4 separate regions of the Homo sapiens genome follow, and regions 1, 2 and 4 are each linked to region 3. Evidence: promoter capture Hi-C in 16 types of primary human blood cells and fetal thymus (Javierre and others, 2016). All regions are on one chromosome and are shown on one strand. The core of a region is centred on a gene start or on the middle of the fragment in contact, and the rest is flanking DNA. Distances in the headings are between cores, read along the strand shown.

The links. The method cuts DNA at HindIII sites, captures the fragments that hold promoters and counts their contacts. A CHiCAGO score of 5 or more calls a contact.
Region 1: a contact is called between a fragment that was not itself captured here and the fragment with the promoter of SHISA7 in region 3, in 6 of 17 cell types (activated CD4 T cells, fetal thymus, non-activated CD4 T cells and 3 more). The highest score is 7.5, in activated CD4 T cells.
Region 2: a fragment that was not itself captured here is called in contact with the fragment with the promoter of SHISA7 in region 3 in 2 of 17 cell types (total CD8 T cells and activated CD4 T cells); the score reaches 6.1 in total CD8 T cells.
Region 4: a contact is called between a fragment that was not itself captured here and the fragment with the promoter of SHISA7 in region 3, in 10 of 17 cell types (erythroblasts, naive CD8 T cells, non-activated CD4 T cells and 7 more). The highest score is 8.6, in erythroblasts.

The regions. Positions count from the first base shown.
Region 1 is chr19:55,085,292-55,087,991 of GRCh38, forward strand. It overlaps EPS8L1 (EPS8 signaling adaptor L1), which reads left to right. Exons shown (of 20, transcript NM_133180.3): 15 at 550-682; 16 at 770-901; 17 at 1,101-1,227; 18 at 1,423-1,597; 19 at 2,012-2,144; 20 at 2,237-2,632. The coding sequence ends at 2,323. Among named protein-coding and RNA genes, the nearest start is that of EPS8L1, 11 kb to the left of the region's middle. The HindIII fragment of the contact is 4,773 bases long and covers 1-2,700 here.
Region 2 is chr19:55,066,217-55,068,916 of GRCh38, forward strand. It overlaps a transcript of RDH13 not described here. Among named protein-coding and RNA genes, the nearest start is that of RDH13, 4.4 kb to the left of the region's middle. RefSeq lists a silencer at 1-142. The HindIII fragment of the contact is 249 bases long and covers 1,128-1,376 here.
Region 3 is chr19:55,441,862-55,444,561 of GRCh38, forward strand. SHISA7 (shisa family member 7) reads right to left here and starts at 1,439. Exons shown (of 4, transcript NM_001145176.2): 1 at 332-1,439. The coding sequence starts at 1,002. RefSeq lists an enhancer at 131-759 and a silencer at 253-342. The HindIII fragment of the contact is 48,275 bases long and covers 1-2,700 here.
Region 4 is chr19:55,110,180-55,112,879 of GRCh38, forward strand. It overlaps PPP1R12C (protein phosphatase 1 regulatory subunit 12C), which reads right to left. Exons shown (of 22, transcript NM_017607.4): 2 at 2,486-2,616; 3 at 2,288-2,406. Among named protein-coding and RNA genes, the nearest start is that of PPP1R12C, 6.1 kb to the right of the region's middle. The HindIII fragment of the contact is 402 bases long and covers 1,250-1,651 here.

The DNA.
Region 1 (2,700 bases), core at 159-2,658, 360 kb before region 3:
AATAGCTGGGACTACAGGCGCGTGCCACCACGCCCAGCTAATTTGGGTATTTTTTAGTAGAGACAGGGTTTCACCATGTTGGCCAGGATGGTCTTGATCTCTTGACCTCATGATCTGCCCGCCTCAGCCTCCCAAAGCGCTGGGATTACAGGCGTGAGCCACCGCGCCCGGCCTAGCTAGTGTTTTTATTATGCTTATGAGTTATGATATATAAAGCCCAGTGCCTATTAGATGCTCAATAAATGACAGCTGTTTCTAGCTGTGTGATGTGGGCAAGTCATTTTCTCGCTCTGAGCCTCATTCTCCTCTGTAAAATGGAATCGATGGTGGGATAGTACCCACTACATATGCCTACAGCACAATGCCAAGCAACGGAGGGAGCAAATATATTCAGTCTGTTATTCTTGTTTCAAATTTCTATTAACAGTATTAACCCGGCCCCTGCTGTGCCCCCAGCTTGGCTCTAACCCCAGCTCACACCAGCACCCTGCAGCCCAGAGCAATGGGGCTGGCTGCCTCCTTATCTCCAACCCTCCCGCTTCTCCTCAGTCACCGAGACTTGGAGCCAGAATCTGAGCCTCAGCTGGAGTCAGAGACAGCAGGAAAATGGGTCCTGTGTAATTATGACTTCCAGGCCCGCAACAGCAGTGAGCTGTCGGTCAAGCAGCGGGACGTACTGGAGGTTAGAGGAGCGGGAGGCTGAGGGGCAGGAATTAGCCAGCCCTAGCTGCAGACAGGCTCTGAACCCTCTGTTCTTTACCACACCCAGGTCCTGGATGACAGTCGTAAGTGGTGGAAGGTTCGGGACCCAGCGGGGCAGGAGGGATATGTGCCCTACAACATCCTGACACCCTACCCCGGACCCCGGCTGCACCACAGCCAAAGCCCTGCCCGCAGCCTGGTGAGCCAGCGCAGACGCTGGGATCTTGAGGGTGGAGAGGCTGGGACCAGATCCTGGGAACAAGGGGCGTGGGGATCAGCTGTCAAGAGTGCTGGAGCAGGTGGTGACTGGGGGTTCAGAAATGCATCTCCAGAAAGGGGAGAGGCTGGGACTCTGAGTCCTCTCCCTAACCCAGGTACTCTCCTCTCCTTCCTTTCAGAACAGCACTCCTCCTCCACCACCAGCCCCAGCCCCGGCCCCACCTCCAGCTCTGGCTCGGCCCCGCTGGGACAGGCCCCGCTGGGACAGCTGCGATAGCCTCAACGGCTTGGACCCCAGCGAGAAGGGTGAGTGGTGGGGACGCCGGCTGCGGGGAGCGGTCCTTATCCTTGCTTTCCAGGCAGAGAAACGGGGGCTCAGAAAGAGCAAAGGGACTCCCGTCCCATTCTGGGGACGCTGGAGCGCCCCCCCGCCCCGCCCTCTGGCCCCAGGACCCCTCGCCCTGAGCCCGCACTCCCTACCTCCCGGTTTCCCGCCTGCAGAGAAATTCTCCCAGATGCTCATCGTCAACGAGGAACTGCAGGCGCGCCTGGCCCAGGGCCGCTCGGGACCGAGCCGCGCAGTCCCAGGGCCCCGCGCCCCGGAACCGCAGCTCAGCCCGGGCTCGGACGCCTCCGAGGTCCGCGCCTGGCTGCAGGCCAAGGGCTTTAGCTCCGGGTGAGTGGGGCCGGGGCCCTCTCGGCGCGGGTTGATACGGACGCTGGGAGCGGAGCGTTCCGATCGGCCGGGAGTCGGGGGGCGGCAGTCGTGGAGACCACAGGGAGCCGGGATTAGCCCGAAGTGAGGGTCTGTCTGGTAGCAACACCCAATGGCAGGCTGTGATTGCCATGTTTTTTCAGACTCCGACTGGATTCCTTAGGGAAATCCCGTACCCTTTGAAAGCAGGATGCGGCCACGCCCCCCGGGTGGCAACATTGTGATTGGTGGGTGGGGTTCAGGAGGTGTCGGGCCTGCCCCCGCTAGAGCTAGAATGCTGTTCTGATTGGACCATCGCCGGGTGGGCGTGACATGATTGTCCGGGCTGGGGCATCCGCCGACCGGCCTGACCGCGCCCGGGCTGCCCTCGCTCAGGACCGTGGACGCGCTGGGTGTGCTGACCGGGGCGCAGCTTTTCTCGCTGCAGAAGGAGGAGCTGCGGGCGGTGAGCCCCGAGGAGGGGGCACGTGTGTACAGCCAGGTCACCGTGCAGCGCTCGCTGCTGGAGGTGAGCCGGACCGCTGGTCCCTGGGTCTGGGTAGGGTTGGGATGACGAGGGCTCGGACGCCAGGACAAAGCGATTTCCACCCCGCCCTCCAGGACAAAGAGAAAGTGTCAGAGCTGGAGGCAGTGATGGAGAAGCAAAAGAAGAAGGTGGAAGGCGAGGTGGAAATGGAGGTCATTTGACCTGCCAGGCGCCCTTCGCAAAGAGTGACGAGGCCCCGTGGGAGAACGGACTCCTCAGACTCTCCCCAATAGCGGAAGTCGATCTTCTGAAGGATGGCCAATCTGCTCCGGCCCTGGTCTTCCCCCATCCCGGTGGACAGACTTAACGATCCTTGCTGCAGTCCCTCCGGAGAGGATCTGGACTGGCTGGGAGTGGGGAGGGCGTGGAGACAGTCTACGGAAAGCGCTAGCAGACCCCCGAGAGGGTGCAGTGGAGCCCTGAGCATTGTAATATGCGGCCCAGCCTATAAACAGCCTCCGTGCTTAGCAGATGGTGTGCCAACTGCTGTCCTCTACCCGGCTACCAGGGGGCTCAGAAACCTGCCCCTCGACCCAGT
Region 2 (2,700 bases), core at 2-2,501, 380 kb before region 3:
GGCTGTCCACGCCTTTACCATTTTCCTGGTTGTTAACATGTTCCTGATCAGCACTGGGTGCTGTCCCAGGTGCTGAGAGGATTCTCCCACAATGCCCTTTGCTTTCCCCATCAGAGGGTTTATGGCACCCAATTCTCATTCACATTCTGTCTCTCCTTTCTCGTTCTTCTCTATCTCTCCTCTCTCTGTCTCCTTTTCTCTTCCTCTCTCCCTCTCTGTCTTCTCTCCCTCTCTCTCCCTCTCTCTTCCTCTCTCTCTTCCTCTGTCCTCTTTTCTCTCTCTCTCTCCCTCTCTCTCACATCTCTCTTTCCCTTCCTTTCTCTTTCCTCTCTCTTCCTCTCTCCCTCTCCCTCCTTCTGTCTTCCTCTATCCCTCTCTTCCTCTTTTTTCTTCCTCTCTTCTTGTCTCTTTCTCTCCTCTCTCTCTCCCTCTTTCTCTTTCTCTCTCTCTTCCTCTCCCTTCCTCTTCCTCTCTCTCCTTCTTTCTTCCTCTCTCTCTTCTTGTGTGTGTCTCTCTCTCTCTGTTCTCTCTCTCCCTCTCCCCCCAACTCTCTTTCCCTACACACATCTTAAGAGGCCTCAGCAGTGTAAGGTAAGTTTAGCGACCCTGTGGCTGTGTAGAGATAAGCAAAGGGGGGCAAGGAGCTCCAGTGGTCCCAGACTCCAGCCATTTGAGTCTTTGCAGCCCAAGCACTGCCCCAGCTTCTTGACAGCCCCAGCCATCACCAAAGGGCACACAGATAAGCTGCCTCCACCAAGGCCTGTGCAGATGGTAGGTTTTTGAGTAAAATAGATATGATCCTTGTCTGAAGCCACTGAGTTTTAGAATAATTTGTTATATGGCCATAGTAACTGGAATGATTGCTGTAGGTTTATTTTATTTTATTCATCCTTGCTGCATGCAACACATGCATGGCTCAGTAACTAGAAGGAAAGAAGAGAAGAAGGGAGGGAGAGGCAGAGGGTGGACAGGAGAGGATGGTAGGAAGGAAAGACAGGAAAGGAGGGTGTTGGTGGCCTTGCCTGCAAGCTGAGCAGACACCACGCAAACAGGTGACCTCCCAGTTAAGATGGAGGGGACTCAGGGCTCAGGAGGGGCAGAAGGTCCCCGTGTCGGAGAGCTGGGCAAGCTTTCTGCAGGAAATGATGGGGATCACGGCCATGTGAGCCGGCAAGATTTCCCTCAGCCAGGGAGGAGACTCCGGGCTGTGGGAACAGCTTAAGCAGAAGGCATGGGACAGGAATGCATATGAGAGATATTGTGGGAGGAGGGAGGGCTGCCTGGGCTGGCATGCAGGGTATGGGAGGGGGTGGAAGGGCTGAGGCGGGAGCCATCAGTAAAAGGACCCAGAGCGCGGCTCCAATGCCATGGTAGGAAGCTTGGCGTTGACTCAGAGGGCGCTGGGTACCGCTGAAGAGTGTTGAGCCAAGGAGGGTCATGTCACGGGCAGATACATGTTTTAGAATTTCTTCTTTTCTGGCTGAGATGTAGAGTATGGACTGGAGAGAAGCACAGGGGACATAGGAAAGGTAGTTCTAGAAAGAGGGGCTGTCCCACCAGGGAAAGTCAACCAACTGTTCCCCAGTATCCATTCCTCCCTTCCAGCTCATGGCACTAAAGCCACTGATTGATTAGCTGGGTGCTATCAATCTCTCTCTCATCTCTCTCTCCCTCTTTCTCTCCCCCTCATCTGTGTCTTTTCTCTCTCTCATCTCTCTGTCTCCCTCTTTCTGTCCCCCTCCTCCGTGTCTCCTCTCTCTCTCTTCTCTGTCTCATATCTCTCTCATTGCTCTCTCCCTCTTTCTCTCCCCCTCCTGTGTCTCCTTCTCTCTCTCTCTTTCTCCCCCATCTCTCTTTCTCTCCCCCTTCCTCTCTTTCTCCTCTCACTCTTCCTGTTTCTCTCTTTCTCTTTCTTCCTCTCTTTCTCCCTGTCTCTCTCTTCCTCTTTTCCTTTGTCTCTCTCTCTCCCCCCAACTCTCTCTCCCTACACACATCTTGAGAGACCTCAGCAGTGTAAGATAAGTTTAGCTACTCCACGGCCTGGCACGGTAGCTCACGCCTTTAATCCCAGCACTTTGAGAGGCCAAGGCAGGCAGATCACTGGAGATTAGGGGTTTGAAACCAGCCTGGCCAACATGGTGAAACCCTGTCTCTACTACAAGTACCAAAAAATTAGCTGGGCATGGTGGCACGCGCCTGTAGTCCCAGCTACTCGGAAGGCTGAGGCAGGAGAATCGCTTGAGCCTGGGAGGCGGAAGTTGCAGTGAGCCGAGACCACACCTCTGCACTCCAGCCTGGGTGACAGAGTGAGATTCTGTCTCAAAAAAAGAAAGAGGAGGCCGGGCACTGTGGCTCAGGCCTGTAATCCCAGCACTTTGGGAGGCCGAGGCATGCAGATCACGAGGTCAGGAGATCGAGACCATCCTGGCTAACACAGTGAAACCCCGTCTCTATTAAAAATACAAAAAAATTAGCCAGGCACGGTGGCGGGTGCCTGTAGTCCCAGCTACTCGGGAGGCTGAGGCAGGAGAATGGCGTGAACCCGGGAGGCGGAGCTTGCAGTGAGCCGAGATCGCGCCACTGCACTCCAGCCTGGGCGACAGAGCAAGACTCTGTCAAGAAAGAAAGAAAAGAAAAGAAAAAAAGAAAAGAATAAAGGGAGGGAGGGAAGGGAAAGGAAGGGAAGGAAGGAAGGAAGGA
Region 3 (2,700 bases), core at 189-2,688:
ATTTGGAAGTCAGGCTTTTCCACCAGGGCAGAGACCTTGTTTTGTTCACTGGTGTATCCCCAGCTCCTGGCCCACAGAAGGTGCTCAAGAAATATGTGTCGAATGAATGAGAGTCTGGGCTTCTCCCTCTCCCTGCATCACTCCGCAACAGCCGGGCCGGCTCTGGCGCGACTTTCTCAGCCCCTGCCCACCTTCAGCTACGCCGGCGGCCGCCACCTGGGTCTCTGACCACCACGCCCTATCCCTGCAGCCCCTCCTCCTCGGATGGCTCCACCTCCCTTGCTGGGCCCCGCCCCAGGCTCGCAGTCCTCCCGCCCGAGAGCACACGCACCTGGGCACGTTGATATCCCGGTGCGCCCGGGGCGCACGGGACGCCTTGCTGAAGGCCACTTTGGCGCCGACGCCCACGGCCAGGGCGAAGCTGATGACCCCGCACACGACGTAGGCTGTGCTGCCCCCGGGGCCCTCGCCCCCGCGGCCCCCGGCACCCCCAGTCCGGCCCCCTTCCAACCACCCGGCCTGGCCGGGCCCTGGCCCCCCGCCCGCACCCCCAGCGCCCCCGGCGCCCCCAGCTAGCGGCGGCGGCGTGGTGGCCCAGCGCGGCGTGTCGTAGTTGGAGCAGGAGGCCTGCGCCAGGCGCATGTGACGGTGCTCACAGCAGAAGCGGTAGTGGCAGGTGCCACAGCAGAAGCGGTAGGAGCCGGTGCTGCAGTTGAAGGTGGCGTCGTACTGGCCCATGACATCGTAGTAGCCGTGGCAGAGCTCGGCGGGAGGGGGCGCCCGGGCCGCCGCGCCCGCCCCGCCCGCGGGGCCGGTCCTGGTGCCGTTGGCGCCTGGGCTCGCCGCGCCCCCGCCGCCCGTCAGCGCCCCGGTCAGGCGCCGCAGGTGCGCCAGCAGGGCGGGCAGCGGGCCCGCGGGCTCGGCGCTCGTGGCGTTGGACGGGCGCGCCCTGGCCTGGCCGGCGCTAGAGGCCAGGAGTACGAGGAGCAGGAGGGCCGGCATGGGGCTTGCAGGGGGTCGCACTGGGCCGCCAGGCTGCGGGGAGAACGAGAGCAGAGGTTGGAGCGCTGGGCGGGAGAGAAACGGTCAGAGGGTGAGAAACGTAGAGATGGGTGGGCAGAGAGGCTGGGGAGGGCGGGCGGGGGGCGGCAGAGTGTGGGGAGCAACAGGCGCCAGGAGGCAGGAAGGGCGGAGGGAGCTGAGCTGCGTGGGCCCAAGTTGGCCGCCCCACGCGCGGTGGGCGACGATGGGAGAGTAATGGAAACGCGCCCGGGCACGGCTGGGGGAGAGAAATGAGCATGGGCGGACAGAACCGGGATCAGGCGAGAGATGAATGCGGGAGAAGCGATTGGGAGGGTCGACAGACACCAGAGGGGTGTGCAGACATTAGGACGAGGAGCGAGGCGAGGCGCGATGTAAGGAGAAGAAACGGGGGCGGCGAAGAGGAGAGGGCAGGGGAGGCAGCTGGAGGGAGGCGCGCGAAGGGGAGGGGAGGGTGGCGAGGGGAGTGGGGACCGCGGAGGGAGGGAAGGAAGCGAGACAGATGAGGGGTGGGTGGGAAAGGAGGAGTCAGGGAGACGGGGAAGGAGGGAGAAAAGAAGGGGAGGAGGAGGAGGGGGAGGAGAGGGAGGGAGGAGGAGAGAGAGAAGTTGAGAATTTGAGTTTATAGACCAGGCAAGTGGGAAGAGGCAGTGCACGGTTTTTCAACACTGACATTCGGGGACCGATGCTGCTTTGTGGTGAGCGCCTGTCCTGAGCGCTGTAGGATGTTTAGCAGCGCCCTCTCCATGCCAGCAGCACCACATTCCCCCGAGTTGTGACAATGTAAGATGTTTCCAGGCATTGCCAAATGTTCCCCTGGTGGGAGGAGGCCACAGCTGCCCCCGTGGAGAACCACTGACTTACACCCCTATGGTCCTCAGTGCCCCGAAATGCCAATTTCTCTCCCTTAGTTAGATCTGATAATCAAGGGATCTTAGGTGCCCTCCCTCCCTCCCTCTCTCTCCCTCTCTCTCTCTCTCTCCCTGGCATGCACACGCACACACACACCACTGTTACGGCGTCGGGTTTGAAGGGTCTCTGTCCACAGCTGAACCACAACCACAGCAGGGTGGTTCCCCTGCCGACTGGACCTCCTGCCAGCTGCCTGACACTGACAGGCTCTTATCTAAGCTCCCTGTGCCCCAAGTCCCCCATCTGTAAAATGGGGATAAGGATGGTTATCTCTGAGTGGTCAGGAGGATGAACTGAGGGAATATGTGTAAAGAGCTTAGAACAGTGCCTGGCATATTGCAGGTGAAATATGAAAGTGTTTGCTGCTGCTGCTATTTCAGAAGGGAGATACAGGCTGAGAAAGGGTCGTCCGGGTGCGGCGGCTCACGCCTGTAAATCCCAGCACTCTGGGAGGCCAAGGTGGGCAAATTGCTCAAGCAGGAGACCAGCCAGCCTCGCCAACACAGCAAAACCGTGTCTTTACAAAAAAAAAAAAAAAAAAAATTAGCCCGGCGTGGTCGTGCGCACCTATAGTCCCAGGTACTCAGGACGCTGAGGTGGGAGGATAACTTGAGTCCCAGAGATCAAGGCTGCTGGGAGCTGTGATTTCACCACCGCACTCCAGCCTGAGTTGACAGAGTGAGACCCTGTCTCAAAAGAGAGAGAAAAGGTGATGCAGAAGAGAGGTGGGAGTTGGTGGTGGTGGTG
Region 4 (2,700 bases), core at 201-2,700, 330 kb before region 3:
AGCCTAAATCACCCAGATCTGGATCCCTAGCTGGGCCCTGAACCAGAGCGGGAGAGGCTACAAAGAATGTCAAGGAGAAACGCAGGCAACAGTGTAGCATCAAGGTTGGTGCAGTGGGTGAGAGTGTAGCATCAAGGTTGGTGCGGTGGGTGAGAGTGTAGCATCAAGGTTGGTGCGGTGGGTGAGAGTGTAGCATCAAGGTTGGTGCGGTGGGTGAGAGTGTAGCATCAAGGTTGGTGCGGTGGGTGAGAGTGTAGCATCAAGGTTGGTGCGGTGGGTGAGAGTGTAGCATCAAGGTCAACACAGGGGGTAGCGTGTTGCATCCCTACTGTGGTTCTGCAGGAGGTTTTCCTTGTGGCAGGAGATACCTGCTGTGCATCAGGCGAAGATGTACAATGCCTGCAACACAGTCTCAGAATGGCCGGGCTCACGCCTGTAATCCCAACACTTTGCGAGGCCGAGGCCAGCAGATCGCCTGAGGTCAGGAGTTGGAGACCAGCCTGGTCAACATGGTGAAACCCCATCTCTATTAAAAATGCAAAATTAGCTGGGCATGCTGGCTCACGCCTGTAATCTCAGCTACCCAGAAGCTGAGGCAGGAGAATCGCTTGAACCCAGGAGGTGGAGGTTGCAGTGAGCCGAAATCATGCCATTGCACTCCAGCCTGGGCAAAAAGTGAAACTCTGTTTCAAAAAAAAAAAAAAGGCTCAGGAATGGAAAGGCAGGGGTGGGGTGGTAAGAAAGGAAGGGAGAGATGGAGGGAAAAAAACAGGAGGAGAAAGGATAGGAAAAAATGTGTTTATGTCTATACCTGGGAAGAGATCGCAAGGGAGGGACAGAGAGAAGGAACACAAATCTATCAAAAAGTTAAAAGCTGATGATTCTATACTGTATGATTCCCTTTATGTGAAGTGTACAAAACAGCAAATCCACAGACAGAAGGCAGAGAGGGCTTCGTGGGGTGGGGGGGAGGGGGGGGTGCATGGTTGGGGGTGATGGCTAAGCGGTTGCAGGGTTTCGTTGGGGGATGATGAAAATGTTCTACAACCAATGTGGTCATAAATGCCCGACCCCGTGAATAGACTAAAAAGCACTGAAGTGTGCACTTTGGGTGAATTGTAGGGTAGGTGAATTACATCTCAAAAAGCTGTCTAAAAAACAAAAACAAAAAAGAAAAAGCACTGGCGAATCTTAGTGAAAGTCATATGGGTAGTCACATGCTATTGCTTCAACTTTTCTGTAAATCTGAAGCTTTCCCAAAATAAAAAGTTGGAGGAGGAAGGAGACAGAATCCAGGTCCAGGGCTGATTTGACCCACTCCCCATTTCAACCAAAGAGGGGCTCCCGAACCTCAGATCTCCGCCGTCACGTGTCCCACTAGCTAGTCCTCCCGCATGGCTCTCGTGGACCCCTGAACCCACGCGGAATCCTATCCTTTCAGCCTGGCCAGCGGCCCCGTCAGGACAGCCGCGTCAGAAGTCTCGGAGGCTGCCGGTATCTCATTTCCTCGTCAGTCTCCCTTTCCTTCCACACGGTCCCCTGGAGTCTGCCGGGAACCATGCTCACACCCTTCCACTCCAACCCAGCCAGACCCTGACAACCACCCCATGAAGCGGCACCAGTGGTCCTGTTTTAGGAAATCAGGGAAGCAAGCTTCAGGGACGTGCCTGGAGTCACCAGTCACAGGCAGAGCTGGGAGGCAAGCCCAGGACTTTAGAAGACATGCTGGGGACCCAGGGATCCTGTGTGGCCATCACACACCTGCTAGAAGCAACACCCCTTCCCTAGAAAAATGAACCTGGCCAGACACAGTTTCAGGGGCTCCTGGACCCCATATGAAGGCTCCTGGGGTACGATGAGTCTCAGAGGACAGGGAGACCAGTCCCTGGCAACCCCTGCATGCCCCTACTCCCCCCCAAGTAAACGCATCCCCTCCCAGAAAGACCTGCGGCAGGGTTCCAGCAATCCTACCTAACGCACTCCTGGGTGAGTCCCTCCACCCACCCACCCCGCCCCGGCATTCCAATCCCCTCAGTTACTCAGGGGGATTGACAGTCCCAGTTGGTAGGGGTTTGAGTTCTCATCCTGTGCGTGTGCTGGGCTCCAAGCAATCCTGGAGGCAGGCCCCTACACCCCCATTTCACAGGTGAGGAAACTGAGGCACAAAGAAAGACAATCCTAGGAAGCAGGGTCAGCCTCGGTGCCCAGGCCGCCTCTAAAGCTCTCAGCCTGGAGACCACGGGTGAGGAGGTGTCCCCCACCCCACACACAGCACACCAGAGCCCACCTCGGCGGGCGATCTCCGCCTTCAGCAGCCCCTCCATGGCGTCCGACTCGGCCAGGTCCAGGGGCAGGTCCCCGTCACTGTTGACGGCGGCGATGTTGGCCCCGTGGCTCAGGAGGTACCTGGGGGTGGGGGCTGGTCAGGGCTGAGGGTCCAGGCCCCCACCCCGACCAGGTCCTGCCCGGCCCTCCCTTGCCTCACCTGGCGATATCTAGGTAGCCACAGGAGGCGGCCACGTGCAGTGGCGTCCAGCCCTCGTTGTCTGCCTGGTTCACAGTGGCGCCCTGCTCCACCAAGAAGCGCACCACCTCCAGGTTCTCATCAATGCAGGCCTGGGGGTGGGAAACAGCCGTCAGCCGCACCTACCCCAGCCACGGTGTCCCAGCAAGTCGGGACTCCAGAGGGAGCCACGAAAA